Regions from separate parts of the Homo sapiens genome. Here all the other regions are linked to region 7. Evidence: promoter capture Hi-C in 16 types of primary human blood cells and fetal thymus (Javierre and others, 2016). All regions are on one chromosome and are shown on one strand. The core of a region is centred on a gene start or on the middle of the fragment in contact, and the rest is flanking DNA. Distances in the headings are between cores, read along the strand shown.

Region 1 (2,960 bases), core at 99-2,598, 260 kb after region 7:
TATTTTTTTTTTGAGACGGAGTCTCGCTCTTTCGCTCAGGCCGGAGTGCAGTGGCGCTATCTTGGCTCACTGCAAGCTCCGCCTCCCAGGTTCACACCGTTCTCCTGCTTCAGCCTCCCGAGTAGCTGGGACTATAGGTGCCTGCCATGGCGCCCAGCTAATTTTTTGTATTTTTTTTTAGTAGAGACGGGGTTTCACCGTGTTAGCCAGGATGGTCTCGATCTCCTGACCTCGTGATCCGCCCACCTTGGCCTCCCAAAGTGCTAGGATTACAGGCGTATATGCTTTGAAAGCGATGAAAATCTCACCTTATTCTCTGTTTTAGCTGCATCCCAGAGATGTTGATGTATTGCAGTTTCATACTGTTTAGCACAGAATATGTTCTGGTTTCCATTTAATGCCTTCTTTTTATTTATTAATTTAAAGAGATAGAGTCTTGTTCTGTTGCCCAGTCTGGAGTGTAGTGGTGAGATCAAAGTTCACTGCAGCCTCAAACTCCTGAGCTCAAGCAATCCTCCCACCTCAGCCTCCTGAGTAGTTGAGATTATATAGGTACAAATTGTCATGCCCGTTTGATGTTTTCTTTCACTTACATTACTTAGAAGTATATTGCATAATTTCTGAACATTCAGATATTTTAAAAATCTTTGTTACTGAACTCTAATTAAATCCTAAAGTGGTCAGAGTGCATGTATACATGATGTCAGTCTTGAGATTTGTTGAGGTTTGCTTTATAGCCCAATGTATAGTCCATTTTGGCAATGTATTTGAAGTGACATTTTTCAGATCTTTTGTCATCTTCTGAAGCTTTGGATATCCAAATAAGGCTGGTCCCTGTAACATTCTGTACCTACTCTGTACAGATTCCCAGTTTCTACTCACTTAAAGTAGGTGTGCTTGTATTTTTAGTGTATCTTTCTCTCTCAATCCAGGAGGTTTTTTCCTTCCCCTTGTGATTATATGCAGCTCATAGGTAAGAAAAACCTTTGTAATGTACTTAAATCTCAGCAGTCCTCAGCTCATTATCAAGTGCCGTAGTCCCTAACCACTAAATTAAGTGTTGACCTTATACATAAGGACTTCATTTAAGAGCGAGTTCGTTCTTGTTGTTGACTCCTGTCATGTTGTACCATTATTCTCTTGAAACTGGTCTGACTTGCCTTTGACAAAAGGAAAGGAGTGTGCTTTGCAGGGCTATGTGCTTTCCTAATACCAGAAGTTATCTAAAGATACTTAACTGTGCTGTGAACTAAAGCTATTGTGTTTGATCTGCCCAGGCATCCAGCTGACTCCTGTATACAAAATTCTACCCGTTCAGTTCTGTTAATGTTTAAGTTCCCGCTGTTCTTTGGTGGGAAAGGAGGTGATGTATAAAAATCAACTGCTTTGTATAAGGCTTGGTGTGTTAGGTGCTAAACCACTTAACTTTTTCTTGATTTGGGGATCTATTCTCCTTGTTTTTTTGTTTGTTTGTTTGTTTTTTGTTTTTTTTTTCCTTCTTTTAGAGACAGAGTCTTGCTCTGTCACCCAGGCTGGAGTGCAGTGGTACGATCATAGCTCATTGCAGCCTCCAACTCCTGGGCTGAAGTCATCCTCCTGCCTCCATCTCCCAAGTAGCTGGTACTGCAGGCACGCATCACCATGCCTGGCTGATTTTTTTTTTTTACTTTTTGTAGAGATGGTGTGTTGCTGTGTTGCCCAGGGTGGTCTTGAACTCCTGAGCTCAACCGATCCTTCCAAAGTGTCAGGATTACAGGCGCGAGCCACCATGCCCAGCTGAGATCTGTTTTTTACTGTTTCACAATAATTGCTGGAAATATTTGTAATAATGTGACTTTCACTGCTAAGACAGAAAAGGAAGATAAGGAAATTGAGGAAAATGAAGCTTCTGCTTCTACAACAGGAAAGCATAAACGTTTGAGTTACTTTTAGAGTAAACGGGGGATAAGTGTGTCTAGATTCTTGACCCACCCTCTTCTGCCACAGTCAGACTTAGAATGCACTTTTGCATGCACTTTTGTTAATCTAATGAACGAACATTTATACACTTTCTAGTTAGTAAATACGTGTAACTTTATATTTCAGCTCATGAGATCCTTTGCTGCGTGCTGCAGGGAAGTGTAGAGCTCTTCAGCTGTGCAGCCAGGATAAGAACTCACGTTCTGTTCTCCCTGCTGCTGCTGTGACAGGGGAGGCACGTGTACATCCAGGCTCTTTCTGTGTGGCAGGGCTGTTTAATTGGGGCTGATGGAAATTTTTGTCATAGGAAATGGGCAATCAGATTTTCAGTTAGTAGTGAAATAATTGACTCTCAATCCATATTGGGAAACAGAAGATAAAACATTTGGTAATAAAAATGTAAATTTTAGAACATAGAACACAAAGAGTGGTCCATAAGCTGGGCGCGGCAGCTCACACCTATAATCCCAACACTTTGGGAGGCTGAGGTGGGCGGATCACGAGGTCAAGAGATCAAGACCATCCTGGCCAACATGGTGAAACCCCGTGTCTACTAAAAATACAAAAATTAGCTGGGCATGGTGGTGCACGCCTGTAACCCCCCTACTCGGAGGCTGAGACATGAGAATTGCTTGAACCGGGGAGGCTGAGATTGCAGTGATCCAAGATCATGCCACTGCACTCCGGCCTGGGCAACAGAGCGAGACTCCATCTCAAAAATAAAATAAAATAAAAACAGGGCCGGGCGCGGTGGCTCATGCCTGTAATCCCAGCACTTTGGGAGGCCAAGGCAGGTGGATCATGAGGTCAGGAGTTCGAAACCAGCCTGACCAACATGGTGAAACCCCACCTCTACTAAAAATACAAAAATTAGCCAGGCATGGTGGCACATCCCTGTAATCCCAGCTACTCAGGAGGCTGAGGCAGGAGAATTGCTTGAACCCGGGAGGTGGAGGTTGCAATGAGCCGAGATTGCGCCACTGCACTCCAGCCTGGGTGAC
Region 2 (2,984 bases), core at 446-2,945, 330 kb after region 7:
TTAGGGCCCCAGCAGTGCTTAGTACTACAGTTCTTTATACAGGTGATGTTAAGTACATTTATGTTAGACAAATACCTCTTTTGCATGCCCCTAGGATACAAGTAAATTAATAATTTGGAGGAAATAGCAAGCCATTTATAATGGGTAACATGTCTTCTATTGTAGAAGCTCCCACAGTGACAGCTACTATAATAGCTACTTCTACTGAATGTTTACTGTGTGTCAGGCACTGTGCTTAGTGCTTTACATATAATCTCTCAACATACCATCAGTCATCACAACAACCTAGAGAAAGACATAGCCTGGATTCTGCTTTACACATGAGGAGACAAAGTCTCAGGGAAAGTCCATAGGAAGTGGAGTAGGCCGGGCACGGTGGCTCATGCCTGTAATCCCAGCAGTTTGGGAGGCCGAGGCGGGCAGATTGCCTGAGCTCAGGCGTTCAAGAGCAGCCTGGGCAACATGACGAAACGCCGTCTCTACCAAAAATACAAAAAATTAGCCAGGAGTGGTGGCACACACCTGTAATCCCAGCTACTAAGGAATTTGAGGTGGAAGGATCATTTAACCCTGGGAGGCAGCGGAGGTTGCAGTGAGCTGAGATAGCGCCACTGCACTCCAGCCTGGGTGACAGAGTGAGACCTCATGTCAAAAAAAAAAAAAAAAAAAAAAAGCAAACAGTAAAAATTGGTGGGATTTAAAAAAAAAGGAAGCGGAGGAGATGGGACAGGACTCAGGCCAGCAACCGCACTGCCAGCACACTGTCTAAATTGTGGAGAAATATTGAGAAAAGGTTAAATAGCGCAGGTTCAGCCTGGGCTTCAAAGCTGAATTGAGAGAACTTGGGGGCTAAGGATTTTTCTCCTCATCTTGAAATTATTTTCACACTAGTGTTTTTTGTGACTATCTTTGTTTGCCTTAAACTAAGTGTTGACTGAGATTCTGTCATACATAAGATACGTTGAGCTACTACTTTGTAAGTAGGTGTTAAAATAGAGCCTAGTAAGGTATAATAGATGGGACCAAGAACATCTTCTGGGAAATTCTTTTTTTCTTTTTTTGAGCCAGAGTCTCGCTCTGTCGCCCAGGCTGGAGTACAGTGGTGCAATCTTGGCTCACTGCAACCTTCGCCTCCGGGGTTCAAGCGATTCTCCTGCCTCAGTCTCCTGAGCAGCTGGGAGTACAGGCATGTGCCACCATGCCTGGCTAATTTTTGTATTTTTAGTAGACACAGGGTTTCACCATGTTGGCCAGGCTGGTCTCGAACTTCTGACCTCAGATAATCCGCCCACCTCAGCCTCCCAAAGTGCTGGGATTACAGGCACAAGCTACTGTGCCCAGCTGGAAATTTTTTCTTAAGAACACAAATTGAGACCCCTTTCTTTCGATGGGTGGCTTGATGTTTTGGAGTGGGGAGCCCATTCACTCTTTATGAGGGACTCTATCCTTCTCTTCCCTTAATTTTTTTCTTGCTAATTAAAATTTCCTTGTAATTTCAGGAAAGCCTAAAAAAAAAAAACCACACACACACCAGAAAAGCATAAAGGCAAAAACAGGATGATAAGCCATTTACCCCCAGAGACGAGCATTGTAATACACTGACTTACCCCAGCTGTGTTTTTCTTGCATCTGCACACACAGACTCCAACAGATGGGATGCTCTCTGCCGCAGACACAAAATACCAGACTAAAAGGGGTTTGGAGGATGGGATTTTGTTATCCCACATGGGTTGGTTTTTGTGCAGCTCAGCAGTGTGGGGCTCTGTATCACTCTCAGCCAGTACTCACCTTCCCCTGCTGGTACAGGATGCCTGCTCAAGCACCCAACCAAAGGAAGGACACGTGTCCAAAGGAAGGACACGCTTATGTTCTCCTTGTGGCCTGTCCACTGAGCAGGACACCCTCTCCTAAAGCACCAAGGAGACTTCCTCTTACATCTCCTTAAACAAGGTTATGTTCCATGCCTTTGCCCTGTGGCGGGGGCGGCTGAGAAAGTTGAGTACATGCATTTCAGCCTCTGCCACAGGAGGTGGGTTCTGCCAGCGTATCATTCAGGGTTCTGCTGCCACATGATTTTCCACGGCTACATAGAAGTCCATCATAGGAATGGCCACCTGACTAAGTCACTCCCTGACTTCCTTTTTCTCCCCTGACAACTAGACATTCTGAGCTCTTCCATTTCCCTCTATAAGGTTAGATCAGCTTGCATAACAAAATGGCATTTGTCTGGTGTGCCCTTGACTTGAGCTGCAACTTCTCTCCCCTGCAGTTTATTTATTTTATTTTGTTTATTTATTTATTTATTTTTTTGAGACGGAGTTTCGCTCTTGTTGCCCAGGCTGGGAGTGCAATAGCACGATCTCTGCTCACCACAACCTCCGCCTCCCGGGTTCCAGCGATTCTCCTGCCTCAGACTCCCCAGTAGCTGGGATTACAGGCATGCACCACCACACCCAGCTAATTTTTGTATTTTCACTAGAGACAGGGTTTCACCATGTTGGTCAGGCTGGTCTCGAACTCCTGACCTCAGGTGATCCGCCTGCCTCGACCTCCCAAAGTGCTGGGATTACAGGCATCAACCACCGCACCCAGCCTGTTGTTTTTTATTTATTTATTTATTTATTTATTTATTTATTTATTTATTTATTATTTTGAGGCAGAGTCTCGTTGTGTCGCCCAGCCTGGCATGCAGTGGTACAATCTCAGTTCACTGCAACCTCCACCTCCTGGGTTCAAGCGATTCTCCTGCCTCAGCCTCCCAAGTCACTGGGATTGTAGGCACCCGCCAACCATGCCCAGCTAATTTTTGTATATTTAGTAGAGACAGGGTTTCACCATGTTGGCCAGGCTGGTCTTGAACTCCTCACCTCAGGCAGTCTGCCCACCTCAGCCTCCCAAAGTGTTGAGATTACAGGCGTGAGCCACCAGCCTCCTGCAGTTTATAGACCTGGTTGGTTGGTTCCTTCACTCCCAAGGCTGAAGGA
Region 3 (2,700 bases), core at 7-2,506, 280 kb after region 7:
TTTTTGTTATTGTCCTTTTCTGCTGCTTTCTCTGGTTTGCAAGAGTCTCAGGAAAAACGAACAAATTTCCTGGAGAGTCAGGAAAGGTGGAAACAAATGAACCCTCAGCCTGCATTGTATGCCCCCAATCCCCCGCAGTTCCCCCCAGTTCTCCCCCTTCACAGCCTTCTGCCTGGAAGGAGGCCTGGTGGGCGCCTGATGGATGACTGACTGTTGTCCCAGCTGGAACCATTTGGTCTCATGCCTTCTTTCATTCAGCATGTATCTATTGAGTGCCACAGGTATGCCCGTGTATTGAAAATGTCAGAGATAAGAGATGAGCAGACACCCTACACTGCAGCGCTGCCAACAGAGTTAACCTGTAAAGAAGCAGGGCGGCCAGCACTCCCAGCCTCTCTGTCAGACAGGACTGTCAGGGTTTGATCTAGAAGCAAAGCCCCTCTGTTTTCTGCCTAATCCCTGAAAGAGTCATGCCCTTGGGGAGTTCATGGTCCAGTGGGGAGCAAGGCCTTGAGAACACAACAAGCACATCTCCAGGCAGGGAGTGAACAGCGTGCAGGGCCCAGCACACGGTGGCCAGTGCTGAGAGTGAGGGACAGGATGGGGCCGGAGTCATCCCACTGAGACACACTATCATTGCTGTGTTTTAGAATCAAACAATCCAGAAAAAAAAAAAAAACAAGGTGCCCACATGCTTTTACATTAGAATTAAATTAACTTGACTTAGATGGTTGAGATGAGCATAAACTTATGATTATCTCTACACCCTGATGGATAAGGTCCACTGAATTGAAATGAAACAGAGGGGGAGCAGGGGTGCTTTTGTAGCCCCCAGATTATGGAATGCTTTCTTGTCTTGTTTGGCATCAGCTGTCACAGTTGGTGAGTTGTGGTCCTCCTTGAGGGTGGTGGTGCCTGGGGCTGTCTGAGTCAGATCATGGCAGGCATCACCTCCACCTTCTGCTTTATGACACTCTCCAGTGGCTGGGCCCAGCCATTGGTCTTGTAAAAAGCACCAGACTTCCTAGGTGATTTATGATGACCAACCAGATTTGGAGGGCCAGTGAGGAGAGACAGAGATGGGGGGAGGGGGAGAAGGAAAGAAAAGGTCAATTCGTAAGTGCTGCTCTGCCATCTAGCAATGTGCTCCTTTTTCCAGGGTTGACTAGGCAGTGGTTAGGTTGAAAACCAAGTCAGGCTTTGCTTCTGGACAAATCCTGGCAACCCTGTCTCTGGCAGGGAAACGGGTTGGGCTGGTCAGCCCTGCTTTAACTGTAGTTTACATCTGTTGATAGCGCTGCAATGTGCGGTGTTTGTGCAGCAGCCAGAAGTGCCGGCTTTCCACAGTAGACCCCCTGGGGACTTCTGAACCCTTTGAAGTGCACATCAGAATGCTACCAGTTTGTGGTGTACGTAGGTACACCTGTGTGTGTACACGCTGTGTGAGGGTGTTTGAGAAGACCAGCTTATATGAACAAGTACTGCACAGGCTGGTTAGTGAAACTTTGCTTCAAAGCTGTAGCATCCCTAAACCAAGACAAATGTCTACTATCAGTCCCAAACAAAAGAAATCATGGAAGGGGGTAAAATGGATAAGTCAATTCATATCAAACCATTGCAACTGAACACAAACTTCAAAGCACATGGTTCATCACTGCTTGTGGGCAGGCAAGGTCCATCATTGGTAAATGGACACTGTGTATATATTATAAATACTAGGTGATGTCTAACCTGGACTTTTTTTTTCCCTTGGTCCTCATTTCATAGAAGCAACTGGTCTAGCCAGCATCCTAGGTAATTGCCTTGGATGAGTTGGCCTGCCCCCATGTTGAGGCAGGGATTAGCTGGAAACCCCTACAGCATCCTCTCCAGGAGAATTCTGCAAGAACCTCTTGCTTGTGCTTCTCCTAATTTAAACAGTTTGCACACAGCAAATGGGCTGCAGAGGGAAGTGTTTGCCTTCAAGTTATGGGTTATGCTGAGCTCCCATCACACATAAGCAAGGAGAACTTTGATTTTCTTTGCTGCTTAGCTCTCTTTGGAATTAAAGGTGGAATCTGGATTTGGGTCCAAAAAGCATCCCGGGAAATTACCAGAGCTAGATTCCATTGTGGAAGGTGGGGGTTCCGTTGGCATAGGGTGATGGTTTTGAGTTATGATGCCATTGGATGGTGTCTCTCTCCCTAGATGACGCTTCTAGAGGGCAGCATTGCAATCAGTGGAACCTTCGCTTATGTGGCCCAGCAGGCCTGGATCCTCAATGCTACTCTGAGAGACAACATCCTGTTTGGGAAGGAATATGATGAAGAAAGGCAAGGAATGTTTGGCTTCTGTCATGCTTTCCATCTTGGCCGCGTGAGATGCAAGGCAGCCCTAGTCAGCAGGCTCTGCTCCCGCCGTGTCCCTGACGCTGTCTCTTTGTGTCCTCCAGATACAACTCTGTGCTGAACAGCTGCTGCCTGAGGCCTGACCTGGCCATTCTTCCCAGCAGCGACCTGACGGAGGTACAGGCCTTCCGCCCCTGACCAGGCATTTAGCAGAGTGGCAGAGCTGGGCCAGAGCTGCTCCTGGGAGTGCAACTGAAATGCTTGGGAGAAGAGCCTCACAGGGAGTTAGGCTGTCATTAGGCCTTTGTGTTAGGAAAGCATGTGTCCATTAGGGCAGGGATGTTAACACTGCTTGTTTTAAGGTTGTAAGTAT
Region 4 (2,729 bases), core at 169-2,668, 410 kb after region 7:
AGACGGGGTTTCACTATGTTGGCTAGGCTGGTCTTGAACTCCTGACCTCAGGTGATCCACCTGCCTCGGCCCCTCAGAGTGCTGGGATTACAGGCGTGAGCCACCGTGCCCGGCTACAATTATAGTCTCTTGCACAGAAGCCAGCTTGGTCAAAATTCAGGTCTTCTTGGGTCCTCCTTTTGAGGAGTGTTCATGCTGTCCTTCCATCTTGCAGTTACCCTGACTTCTAAGAATGCAACCCGAGCTTGTTTCCCTGTTGAGGCCACTTGGCAGTTATATGAGGGACTGGGGACATCTGAGATCTCTGGGACTCATAATAATTTTCTTTAAAGTTTTAGTAATTCCCCAAATGTAAGATAATCTTGTATTCTGAAGCAACCCGTCACATAGAAGACATTAAGAAAACATTGATTAAGAGAGGTAGATGCTATTTTCCAGAAACAACCGTTTTTATATGAAAAGGTAGGAACCTTTCTTTTTAATGATAGGGGCTTCTTTCAAAAGTTATTTTGCTCTTAGGTGTCTTTTTTTTTTTTTTAAACATCTCATTCATAAATAATTAAAAACTTATGGAAAGTTGCAGGAAATAGTACAGAGGACTCCCATAAAGTCTTTTTTGTTTGTTTGTTTTGTTTTGTTTTGAGACAGAGTCTCGCTGTTTTACCCAGGCTGGAGTGCAGTGGGACAATCTCGGCTCACTGCAACCTCTGCCTCCCGGGTTCAAGCAATTCTCGGGCCTTAGCATCCTAAGTAGGTGGGATTATAAGCATCCGCCACCACGCCCAGCTAATTTTTTTTTTTTTTTTTTTTTTTGTATTTTTAGTAGAGACGGGGTTTTACCACGTTGGTCAGGCTGGTCTCAAACTCCTGACCTCAGGTGATCCACCTGCCTCGGCCTCCAAAAGTGCTGGGATTATAGGCGAGAGCCACTGCACCCAGCCCCATGTAGTCTTTTTAAAAAGCAGGCAACTCAGGTTTACTAGTTAACATGCAAAAAACTGCACATATTTAAAGTTTGGTAAGCTTTGACATGTAGACACCCGTGAAACCATCACCACACTCAAGATCATGGACATATTCATCCCAAAAGCTTCCTAGTGGTCACTCCTTCCTGCCCCTCCTCTACCCCTGGCGACAACTTACCTACTTCTACTAAAGATAAATTAGTTTGCAAATGGAACCATACAGCATATACTAGTATTTGTTGTCCTGGCCTCATTTACTCTGTATAATTACTTTGAGACTCATCCATGTTCTGTGTATCAGTTTATTCCTTTATTATTTTTGAGACAGGGTCTTACTCTGTTGCCCAGGCAGGAGTGCAGTGGTGCAATCATAGCTCACTGTAACCTTGACCTCCTGGGCTTAAGGGATCCTCATGCCTCACACTGTGCTGGAATTACAGGCGTGAGCCACCACACTGGCAATGTTTTGTTTCTTTATGAAGATGAATAAAGATTTCACATGAATTTTTTAAGATGAAACATGCTTCATGCATGCAGGTTTCTTTGGGCGTATTCATGCCCACTCCCTCTGGTTGGAGCTTTGTCAGAGAAGTGTGAGCAGTTCTTTCCTAGGCCATAGGTGAAAGATGCGCATGACACGCTTAGCACTGTCCTTGCGGTTCATGAGGCACATACATCTTACTGCCCCGTAGTAAAAATTCAGTCTTTCCAAGCGATTACTGTGTGAAGGACATTTAGTTCCTTCACCTATTATTGGGGACATAAGTAACTGAAAGCTTTGAAGCTTTGTGCTCACCTAGAAATGTGCAGCATGTAAACTTTCTAGAAAATGTGCTGCTCTTTAGACCTTGTAGCCACTAAGCAGTTGCATATTGAGTTTCCCATTCTCCCTGCTGTGTTACTTTGCAGTCTGGTGCCATCATGACAGTCCTCGCAGCTGTCTGCACTAAGATCCCAGAAGGGAGGCTTGCCATTATTTTCCTTCCGATGTTCACGTTCACAGCAGGGAATGTAAGTATTTTTATGAAGTGCAGTGCTGGGGATAGTGGTGATGTTTTTATGTTGAGTGGGTTCTTGCCCTTAAGTTAGAAATGTCAGTGCTGGAGCAATCACAGTTGTGCCGCTTGTTTCTTGCTGCCTTTCAGGCCCTGAAAGCCATTATCGCCATGGATACAGCAGGAATGATCCTGGGATGGAAATTTTTTGATCATGCGGCACATCTTGGGGGAGCTCTTTTTGGAATGTAAGTTTGAGTGTAATTGATTGCTAAACTGCTTCCTTGGGTCATGCGCTCCTCCTACCCCAGCCTCACCCCTACCCCCCATCCCCATGGCAGAGACATTGAACTATGCAACGGAAGCAGAAGCAGGTGGGCTTGGGAGGGTGAGGAAACCTCAACGTGGCTTGCTTTGGGTTTACCCAGCATACCTGGCTCATTGTAGAGACAGTCTGTGCCTTTACCCTACGCTTAACCTTAAGTTGCCCCAACTGTTGGCCTGTTATTCCCAGCCCCCTCTTAGAAGACTGCAGCCTGGCCCCCAGTCTATGCTGACATCTTCTTTTTCCCCTTCAGACTTTCCTGCCCTCCTCTCCCCTGCCTGGCGTCCCACCCTGCTACCCTGACCTCTGTCTCGCCAGTGCTATTTAGACATGCTGAGTTGGCGGAGCCATTGCTCTGTATGACTGGAGTAGAGGCCGGTGACTGCAAACCAATGTGGACCACTTACTGAGTACCCGCTGTATGCAGGCACCAAGCTAGTTCCC
Region 5 (2,965 bases), core at 1-2,500, 300 kb after region 7:
TAATTGTGGGTTTCTGTGTTCACCACCATTTCATCTCTGGCCTCTTTCTAGTCTTCTAAGAAATGTTATAGACTCAATATGCTTCTTACGTGCATTTTCTTCTCAGGGCCCTGATTTTCCCAATACTGTTATATACATAAAACCTTCTAGCCCCTAGGGGTGATTGAGGGTCTTCAAATAGCTCAGAGAATAGTTGAGAACTTGAGCACTGACTAGATATTTTAAGATGTTGAGTGATTATTATTACCCTCTAAAATAATGGTATTGGAATTATGTTTTTAAGGAGTCTATATTTTAGAGAGGTACAAGCTGAAATATTTGGATGAGATAAGCTCTCTGCGATTTGCTTCCAAATAATATGGGGGGTGGGGGTAGGAATGGAAGGGAATACAGATGAAACAATATTGACTGTAAGTTGATCATTTTTATGGTAGAGTTTTGGTACCTGGGAGTTCATTATACTACTCTTTCTACTCTTGTGTGTTTGACATTTTTCTTTATTGAAAAGATAAAAATAAATAGTCAAAGGAACCCCAGAGATATGTGTCTTCACAGATACCCCGAGATGTCCAGCCACATTTTGCAATTTACTTGACAACTGGTTGGGGAAGACAATGCATTATATAGACTGTTTTTAGACTCCGCAGTCTATGGAGCACAGGGGCTCCAGACTCACTCATTTCCCAGCATTATGTATCTGATTTGACTTTCCTGGAAACATTCTTACTAGTTGCTCATAGGTTGATATCTCCATTTGTTGTGACTCCCACAAACAGGCTCAGATACAAGTAGGAAGTCCAGAAGTGAATCAGTTGCAGATATGTGTTATTGGAAATGTAAAGATGAATAGAAAGGCTTTGGGTACAAGGAAGTGGTTCCAGCAGTGCCATGATACTGCCCGCATTCACTGAGCATTGCAGTTGATGGGGTAACAGGTATGCCTTAAAAGCCAAGAGAATGACTAGGTCCCTAAGACCAGCTGCTGCATGTGCTCAGTTCTTAGTAGTCCTCTAGATGAAGGAAGTTCTCCAGCATTGGCCTGGCGTGTATTGATAATGAATTATCTCTTTGATTGTTGTTTTCCATTATCAGTTAACGGGGCTGTTCCAGTTTACGGTCAGACTGGCATCTGAGACAGAAGCTCGATTCACCTCGGTGGAGAGGATCAATCACTACATTAAGGTCAGACTGCTGTAGGCCTTTTACCGTGATCTGACTCCTCTTGGAGTCGGTTTACCCTTTGCTGCCTCAGCTGGGTGTACAAGGAGGAGGCTTGTGTTCTCTGCCTATCTAATCCCACAGAATCTCCAGCAATCTCTCAACCGTGCTTGGAATGGGAAAGAGATTACCGTAAGAGTTTCTAAGTATATTTGTAAATTATGTCGAGCTGAGAACTTCATTGGCTAATTTCCAGAATGTTCAGAACCTTGTCAGTTCAGCTTAACTGACTAATGGAGCATTTTCCTTACACTGTTTAAAACCATGTATTGTTTTAATTCTTACTATGTCCAATTGTTCTTAATCAGGGATGGCCATCAGGACCCCCTGCTGAGCTTTTGGCAGGACAAACGTGGCCTCATCTCTGGATTCTGTTGCAGTGGATTGGGGTGGGACCCAGGCTTCTATAGTTTGAAAAGCTCCATAGCGAATTCTAAACTGCTCTCCCAACTTACAAACGAGTAAATTTAATTGATACCAGAGTATCCAGCTCTTCCCACCTTTCCCCAGGAACCCCTTCCGTCTTGCCGTGGGTGGCAGGCATCTTGCTGCTGTCCTAACTGGCACTCTTAAACAATTTCCTACAGGGATGTCTTAATCCATTTCACACTGCTGTAAAGAACTACCTGAGATTGGGTAATTTATGAAGAAAGAGGTTTAAGTCACTCACAGTTCCGAAGGCTTAACAGGACGCATGGCTGGGAGGCCTCAGGAAACTTACAATCATAGCGAAAGGTGAAGGGGAAACAAGCACATCTTCCCATGGCAGAGCAGGAGAGAGAGAGAAGGGGGAAGTGCCACACACTTTCAAACAACCAGATCTCCTGAGAACTCACTGTCACGGGAACAGCAAGGGGGAAGTCCACCCCCCTGATTCAGTCATCTGCCACCAGGCCTCTCCCCTCACACATGGGGATTATTATACAATTCGAGATGAGATTTGGGTGGGAACACAGAGCCAAACCACATCAAGGGGTGTCCAATCATTTGGCTTCCCAGGGCCACATTGGAAGAAGAATTGTCTCAGGCCACACATAAAATAATACTAACGATAGCTGATGAGCTTAAAAAAAAAGATGGCAAAAAAAAGTCTCATAATATGTTAAGAAAGTTGACGAATTTGTGTTGGGCCACATTCAAAGCTGTCCTGGGCTGCATGTGGCTCAAGGGCCACAGATTGGACAAATTTGCTTATAAAGAAGCAGCATCATGAGTAGTTAGATTCTCAAATTGAACTCAATTCTTAAGAGTTATCTATTTTATTGAACTGCTGTGAGACTTTACAAGCATCTGTGTCATTGTTTATATGTGAAGAGTATATTCTGAGTTCCCAACACTTGACTTTGAAACATAGTTTTGAAAAGTTAGCTTTTTTTCTTTTTTTCCTTTTTTAATTTATTTTTTATTTTTTTATTTTTTTTGAGAGAGGGTCTTATTGTCACCCAGGCTTGAGTGCAGTGGCATGAATACGGCTCAGTCCAGCCTCGATCTCCCAGGCTCAAGTGATCCTCCCACCTCAGCCCCGCCAAGTAACTGGGACTACAGGCATGCGCCACTAGGCCCAGCTCATTTTTGTATTTTTTGTAGAGATAGGTTTCGCCATGTTGTCCCGGCTGGTCTCAAACTCCTGGGCTCAAGCGATCTGCCTCTGCCTCCACCTCCCAAAATGCTGGGATTATAGACAGGAGCCATAGTGTCCGGCCTGAAAAATTACTCTTTCAATTGGGAACTGAGTGTACGTAAACTG
Region 6 (2,700 bases), core at 71-2,570, 350 kb after region 7:
AGCAGATTTTTGACGTGAGCTGGACAATAACATGAGGACACCTGCTCTTTGCCCAGGCTTGCTGTGTGCTGAGGGCTTTGTGCCCACGGTGTCATTCGGTACAATGGTGCTCTGTATTGTTGACGGAGCCTTGCAGATCCTAGATGACAGATGTTGAATTACTTACCTATCTTACTGTGTAACAAATTACCCCAAAACTTAGTGGCTTAGAACAACAGCATTTATCATTTCACAGTTTCTGAGGGTTAGGAAAATGGGTGTGGCTCAGCTGGATGCCTCTGACTCAAGGTCTCTCATGAGGTTACCATCAAGTTGTTGTTGGGGCTACAGTGTCACCTGAAGACTCCCCTAGGGGAGGCTCCACTTCAAGCTCACTTACATGGAGGTCTTCAGGACCCGGTTGCTCATGAACTGTTGGCTGGAGACCTTCAGTTCCTTGACACATGGGCCTCTGCATAGGGTAGCTCAAAACATGGCAGCTGAACCCCATCAGAGAGAGCAAGCAAGAGGGCACCCAAAATAGAAGCAATGGTCTTTTTGTAACCTAATCTTAGATGTGATATCCCATTGCTTTTGCCATATTCTTTTTTTTTGAGACAGAATCTCGCTCTGTCACCCCAGGCTGGAGTGCAGTGGTGCAATCTCAGCTCAGTGCAGCCTCTGCCTCCTGGGCTCAAGCAATTCTCCTGCCTCAGCCTCCCGAGTAGCTGTGATTACAGGCATGTGCCACCATGCCTGGCTAATTTTTGTATATTTTAGTAGAGATGGAGTTTACCATGTTGGCCAGGCTGGTCTTGAACTCCTGACCTCGAGTGATTGGCCTGCCTCAGCCTACCAAGGTGCTGGGATTACGGGTGTGAGCCACCGCACCCGGCCGCTTTTGCCATATTCTATTTGTTGGGTTTGTTGTTGTTGTTGTTGTTGGTTTGAGACAGTGTCTCCCTCTGTTGCCTGGGTTGGAGTGAAGGGACACAATAATAGCTCACTGCAGCCTCAACCTCCCAGGCTTGGGTGATCCTCCCACCTCAGCTGCCTGAGTAGCTGGAACTACAGGCACCACATTGTGCCACCACAATGGGCTAATTTTTAAATTTTTGGTAGAGATGGGGTTTCACCATGTTGCCTAGGTTGGTCTCAAATTCCTGGGCTCAAGTGATCCTCCCACCTTGGCCTTCCAGAGTGCTGGGATTCCATGCATGAGCCACTGCGTCTGGCCCATTTTCTATTTGTTAGAAGTGAGTTACTAAATCCATCCTATCCTCAAGGGGAGGGGATTACACAAAGGTGTGTATCCTGGGAGTCAAGGCTAACTGGGGTAACTATCGGGGAATCTGTCCCGATAGTCACGTAGGTTCTTTTCTGTTTTTCCTAAGCGTCGGCCAGCTTGAGAAATAAAGGGACGAGTACAAAAGAGAGAAATTTTAAAGCTGGGCGTCTGGGGGAGACATCACGTGTCGGTGGGTTCCGTGATGCCCCACAAGCCGCAAAAACCAGCAAGTTTTTATTAGGGATTTTCAAAAGGGGAGGGAATGTGCAAATAGGTGTGGGTCACAGACATCAAGTACTTTACAAGGTAATGGAATATCACAAGGCAAGTGGAGGCAGGGCAAGATCACAGGACCACAGGACTGGGGCAAAATTAAAATTGCTAATGAAGTTTCGGGCACCATGGTCATTGATAACATCTTATCAGGAGACAGGGTTTTGAGAGCAACTGGTCTGACCAAAAATTTATTAGGCGGGAATTTCCTCTTCCTAATAAGCCTGGGAGTGCTATGGGAGACTGGGGTCTATTTCACCCCTATAGCCTCGACCATAAGAGACAGGCACACCTAGGGGGGCCGTTTATAGGCCTATACCCCCAGGCGCGTATTCTCTTTCCCAGGGATCTTCCTTGCTGAGAAAAAGAATTCAGTGATATTTCTCCCATTTGCTTTTGAAAGAAGAGAAATATGGCTCTGTTCCACCCGGCTCATCGGTGGTCAGAGTTTAAGGTTATCTCTCGTATTCCCTGAACAATTGCTGTTATCCTGTTCTTTTTTCAAGGTGCCCAGATTTCATATCATTTAAACAGACATGCTCTACAATTTGTGCAGTTAATGCAATTATCACAAGGTTCTGAGGCAACATACATCCTCCTCAGCTGACAGGATTAAGAGATTAAAGTAAAGACAGGCATAGGAAATCACAAGGGTATTGACTGGGGAAGTGATAAGTGTCCATGAAATCTTTACAATTTATGTTTAGAGATTGCAGTAAAGACAGGCATAAGAAATTATAAAAGTATTAATTTGGGGAACTAATAAATGTCCGTGAAATCTTCACAATCCAGGTTCTTCTGCCATGGCTTCAGCCAGTCCCTCCGTTCGGGGTCCCTGACTTCCCGCAACAGGTAACATACCAACATGTGTAGGTGGTGAGGTTGCCATTTTAATGAAAATGAAACAGAGCGACTCATCTTGGTGCCCTGGTGCAGGGTGATGCCTCTGTACATAGAGGTGGTGGCGGGAGCCCTGAGACTTTCCTCGGAAAGGAGCTTTGGCTCTGCCCCGAGTACTGCCCTGGAGTACAGTGGTGTGATCTCAGCTCACTGCAGCCTCCACCTCCGGGGCTCAAGCAATTCTCCCACCTCATCCTCCCAAGTAGCTGGTATTACAGGCACGTGCCACCACGTCCAGCTAATTTTTATTATTTTTATTT
Region 7 (2,934 bases), core at 307-2,806:
AGAGCCCTACCTTTCCTCCAGCACGTCTCCCTTTGGGGAATCGTATCACCCTGGGCGGCAATCTCCCCTCCACCCCTAGAGGGTGCTGTTCTCACTCTCTAAGGCATAGGACCAAGTTTCAGACAGGACTCTCTCTAGGTGACTCTGGCTCCCAGTGCCCAGGGGCAAAAAGAAAAGCGCTGGGCATTATTCTCGAGGTGCCTGCGCGTGCCGCCTCCGATGTGAACTCGCAGTACCATTTCTAGAACTGAATCTAAAGCTCAGAACGGGTTCATGACTTGTCCTAAGTTTTACAAGTCAATTAGCGCTAGGACTTGATCTCGGTCCTCTGAGCAATCCGGTCCCCAAGGCTGCCTGCCTCCCGAGGGTCCGGACAGGGTCTTGGGTACCCCCAACGCTCAAACTCTGAGGGACTGTCTTTCTCCAGAGGGCCCCGGGACCAACAATCTCTTACTCCTGTTAGCCTTGACTAAATACAGCCGGGACTCTGAAGGAGCTGGATCTCGCGTCCCAACGCAGGCGTCCTCCAAGAGGGATAGACAGGCGGGAGGAAAGCGGACCAGGCCAAGCCCATGCGGCGCCGGTCCTGCCAGCTCTACCTGGCGGGGCCGCGCCGGGATTACCCACCTAGCACAAGGATACGGTCCTCGGGCCGCAGCTCCGGCTCTAGGAGGGCACGGAAGGAGGAGAAGTCCCCGAACCAATCGTAGGGGGCAGAATCGGCTGCGCCTTGGTAGCGCTGATCCCAGTACTCGACTTCGCGGTACCCGCAGTTCCGCTCCGGTAACTCCGGAGGCGCCCTACCTGCCCCTGGAGAGGCCATGCTCTCAACCGCCGGGCAGCCAGAGCCGCCGGCCCTTCAGCCAATACGGAAGGCAGGATGCAGAAGGCGGGGCGCTGGTGTCTCCGCCCACCACCTGCAGTTGCTCAACACAAACACGTGGAACTTCCGTCCTTTACTAAGCGCTCTTCGAAGAATCCTCCGGCTGGGAAAACTATCGTCCAGACCCTGAATCCTCCGGCTGTACTGCCAAGTCATTTCCTAGGGCCGCACTCAAGGTGTCAGACTCACGTGGGCTCATCACTGCGTCCTCTCATATTTTCAATATGAATGACTTTTATCAGGAAATCTGAAAATTAGTGAAAGGTTCATTTTTCTCAGCATCCGGAAGGCTCGAAGGGCAGGCAGGAGGGGCGCGAACAGGGGCTTTGCCCTCCTGGAGAGACAGCATGAACACAGATGTTCCCAGCGCAGGCGAAGGAGAATGCTGGCTTCAGCGGTTGTGGGGGAGGTAGGCAGGAATGTTGCTTTTCTGGACATTCGTTCTAAATTAGCGCCTGTGTACCCAGGGCTGGGTATAAACTGAGGAGTAAGACATTGTCCCTGCTCCTATGGAGCGTGGAGTGCATCAGAGGAGACAAATGCAGAAAAATTACATTTTAGTGGAGTAAATGAAGACTGGCTACTCGGATCGGCGCTTAGCCTGGTGGGACGCCAGGCACGGGAAGCGGAACCTAAGTGTCGAAGGTTCGGGTTTCCGGGGGTGGTGGGCCCACACAAGCGGCGCACCGTTAAGATGGCGGCTGGGCTGCGGAAACGCGGCCGGTCCGGTTCCGCGGCCCAGGCAGAGGGACTCTGCAAGCAATGGCTGCAGCGCGCCTGGCAAGAGCGGCGCCTGCTGCTGCGGGAGCCGCGCTACACGCTGCTGGTGGCCGCCTGCCTCTGCCTGGCGGAGGTGGGCATCACCTTCTGGGTCATTCACAGGGTGGCATGTGAGTGCGCCGAGGGGGAGGGGAGGGGAGGGAGGGAGACCTGAACCCGCGACCCAAACTGGATCTCAGACCTGGAACTCCAAACCAGACTCTGTATCCACTCACTCGTCAATTGCGAACCCATCCATATCCCTTACCTGAGCGCCAAGCCTGCTCTACAGAAAACCGGATCTTAATCTGCCCGCATGGCAGAGGTGGATACCCTAGAGATTGGCCTTCTGCACTGAACTTACAGCCTGCAAACCAGCTTAGAAGTCAGATTTGAGCCAAAATTGTTGTACTGCTGCTGCTGCTGCTTTTCTCTGTGGCTTTGGACACCTCAGGTCTCCTCCTGGATCTCAGCTTTTTCCATGTGTTCAGTTCTGTGATCTTTGAACGTCCCTTCTCAATGATGGCATCTTGTGACCACTTGAGTCCATTAGGCATTATTGGCTACTCCTTTCCAGGCTGAAACTATACTCTAGGCTTAAGGCACTTGGCTTTCTTGCTAAAGACTCTTAATTCAACAAATATTTATTTAGTGCTTATTATATGCCTAGCATTATGCTGGTTACCAGAGAGAGGTACAGTGGTGAATAAGAGATGCATTTCTGCCGGGCGCGGTGGCTCACGCCTGTAATCCCAGCACTTTGGGAGGCCGAGGCGGGCGGATCACGAGGTCAGGAGATCGAGGCCATCCTGGCTAACACGGTGAAACCCCGTCTCTACTGAAAAAAAAAAAAAAAAAAGAATTTAGCCGGGCATGGTGGCGGGCGCCTGTAGTCCCAGCTACTCGGGAGGCTGAGGCAGGAGAATGGCGTGAACCCGGGAGGCAGAGCTTTCAGTGAGCCGAGATCACGCCACTGCACTCCAGCCTGGGCGACAGAGCAAGACTCCGTCTCAAAAAAAAAAAAAGAAAAAGGATGCATTTCTAACTCGGGCCTGGACAGTAAGTTAGCAGGCAATTATAATGCATCATAATCATGGTAGTAGTAACACAGGATACCATAAAGGGCATAGGAAGTCACTTAAACCAGGTTGGAGGAGTCAGCAAAGGCTTCATAGAGCCACCCTTGGAAGGTAGGAATTAGCTATTTAAGGAAAGAAGAAAAAGGTGAGGGGAAGGAGTGCTGTGGACAGAGGATCCTCTATTAAAAATCTCCAGCTAGGCTGGGCGCAGCG

The links. Contacts are between HindIII fragments. The CHiCAGO score rates a contact against its expected background, and 5 or more counts as called.
Region 1: a contact is called between a fragment that was not itself captured here and the fragment with the promoter of ALG3 in region 7, in 5 of 17 cell types (M1 macrophages, M2 macrophages, endothelial precursors and 2 more). The highest score is 8.3, in M1 macrophages.
Region 2: a contact is called between a fragment that was not itself captured here and the fragment with the promoter of ALG3 in region 7, in 6 of 17 cell types (M1 macrophages, M2 macrophages, M0 macrophages and 3 more). The highest score is 14.9, in M1 macrophages.
Region 3: a fragment that was not itself captured here is called in contact with the fragment with the promoter of ALG3 in region 7 in 2 of 17 cell types (M1 macrophages and M2 macrophages); the score reaches 6.4 in M1 macrophages.
Region 4: a fragment that was not itself captured here is called in contact with the fragment with the promoter of ALG3 in region 7 in 2 of 17 cell types (M0 macrophages and megakaryocytes); the score reaches 5.7 in M0 macrophages.
Region 5: a fragment that was not itself captured here is called in contact with the fragment with the promoter of ALG3 in region 7 in 1 of 17 cell types (M1 macrophages); the score reaches 5.6 in M1 macrophages.
Region 6: a contact is called between a fragment that was not itself captured here and the fragment with the promoter of ALG3 in region 7, in 17 of 17 cell types (endothelial precursors, M1 macrophages, M2 macrophages and 14 more). The highest score is 33.2, in endothelial precursors.

What each region holds. Positions count from the first base shown.
Region 1 is chr3:183,989,841-183,992,800 of GRCh38, reverse strand. The region is part of intron 2 of ABCC5 (ATP binding cassette subfamily C member 5); the gene reads left to right. Among named protein-coding and RNA genes, the nearest start is that of ABCC5-AS1, 15 kb to the left of the region's middle. RefSeq lists an enhancer at 2,228-2,728. The HindIII fragment of the contact is 1,078 bases long and covers 810-1,887 here.
Region 2 is chr3:183,921,700-183,924,683 of GRCh38, reverse strand. All of the region lies in intron 29 of ABCC5 (ATP binding cassette subfamily C member 5), which reads left to right. Among named protein-coding and RNA genes, the nearest start is that of MIR4448, 36 kb to the right of the region's middle. The HindIII fragment of the contact is 3,947 bases long and covers 1-2,984 here.
Region 3 is chr3:183,964,989-183,967,688 of GRCh38, reverse strand. It overlaps ABCC5 (ATP binding cassette subfamily C member 5), which reads left to right. Exons shown (of 30, transcript NM_005688.4): 13 at 2,188-2,312; 14 at 2,432-2,504. Among named protein-coding and RNA genes, the nearest start is that of ABCC5-AS1, 40 kb to the left of the region's middle. The HindIII fragment of the contact is 6,780 bases long and covers 1-2,700 here.
Region 4 is chr3:183,832,971-183,835,699 of GRCh38, reverse strand. It overlaps PARL (presenilin associated rhomboid like), which reads left to right. Exons shown (of 10, transcript NM_018622.7): 8 at 1,875-1,976; 9 at 2,111-2,208. Among named protein-coding and RNA genes, the nearest start is that of MAP6D1, 8.8 kb to the right of the region's middle. The HindIII fragment of the contact is 651 bases long and covers 1,093-1,743 here.
Region 5 is chr3:183,944,067-183,947,031 of GRCh38, reverse strand. ABCC5 (ATP binding cassette subfamily C member 5) reads left to right here. Exons shown (of 30, transcript NM_005688.4): 24 at 1,093-1,182. Among named protein-coding and RNA genes, the nearest start is that of MIR4448, 59 kb to the right of the region's middle. RefSeq lists an enhancer at 2,038-2,127. The HindIII fragment of the contact is 3,580 bases long and covers 1-2,965 here.
Region 6 is chr3:183,899,107-183,901,806 of GRCh38, reverse strand. It overlaps the pseudogene CYP2AB1P. Among named protein-coding and RNA genes, the nearest start is that of MIR4448, 14 kb to the right of the region's middle. The HindIII fragment of the contact is 4,315 bases long and covers 1-2,700 here.
Region 7 is chr3:184,247,584-184,250,517 of GRCh38, reverse strand. It overlaps ALG3 (ALG3 alpha-1,3- mannosyltransferase), which reads left to right and starts at 1,556. Exons shown (of 9, transcript NM_005787.6): 1 at 1,556-1,773. The coding sequence starts at 1,578. It overlaps EEF1AKMT4-ECE2 (EEF1AKMT4-ECE2 readthrough), which reads right to left and starts at 846. Exons shown (of 19, transcript NM_014693.4): 1 at 628-846. The coding sequence starts at 823. It overlaps EEF1AKMT4 (EEF1A lysine methyltransferase 4), which reads right to left and starts at 846. Exons shown (of 3, transcript NM_032331.4): 1 at 628-846. The coding sequence starts at 823. RefSeq lists enhancers at 960-1,069, 1,100-1,159, 1,240-1,289, 1,488-2,231, 2,232-2,934. The HindIII fragment of the contact is 5,512 bases long and covers 1-2,934 here.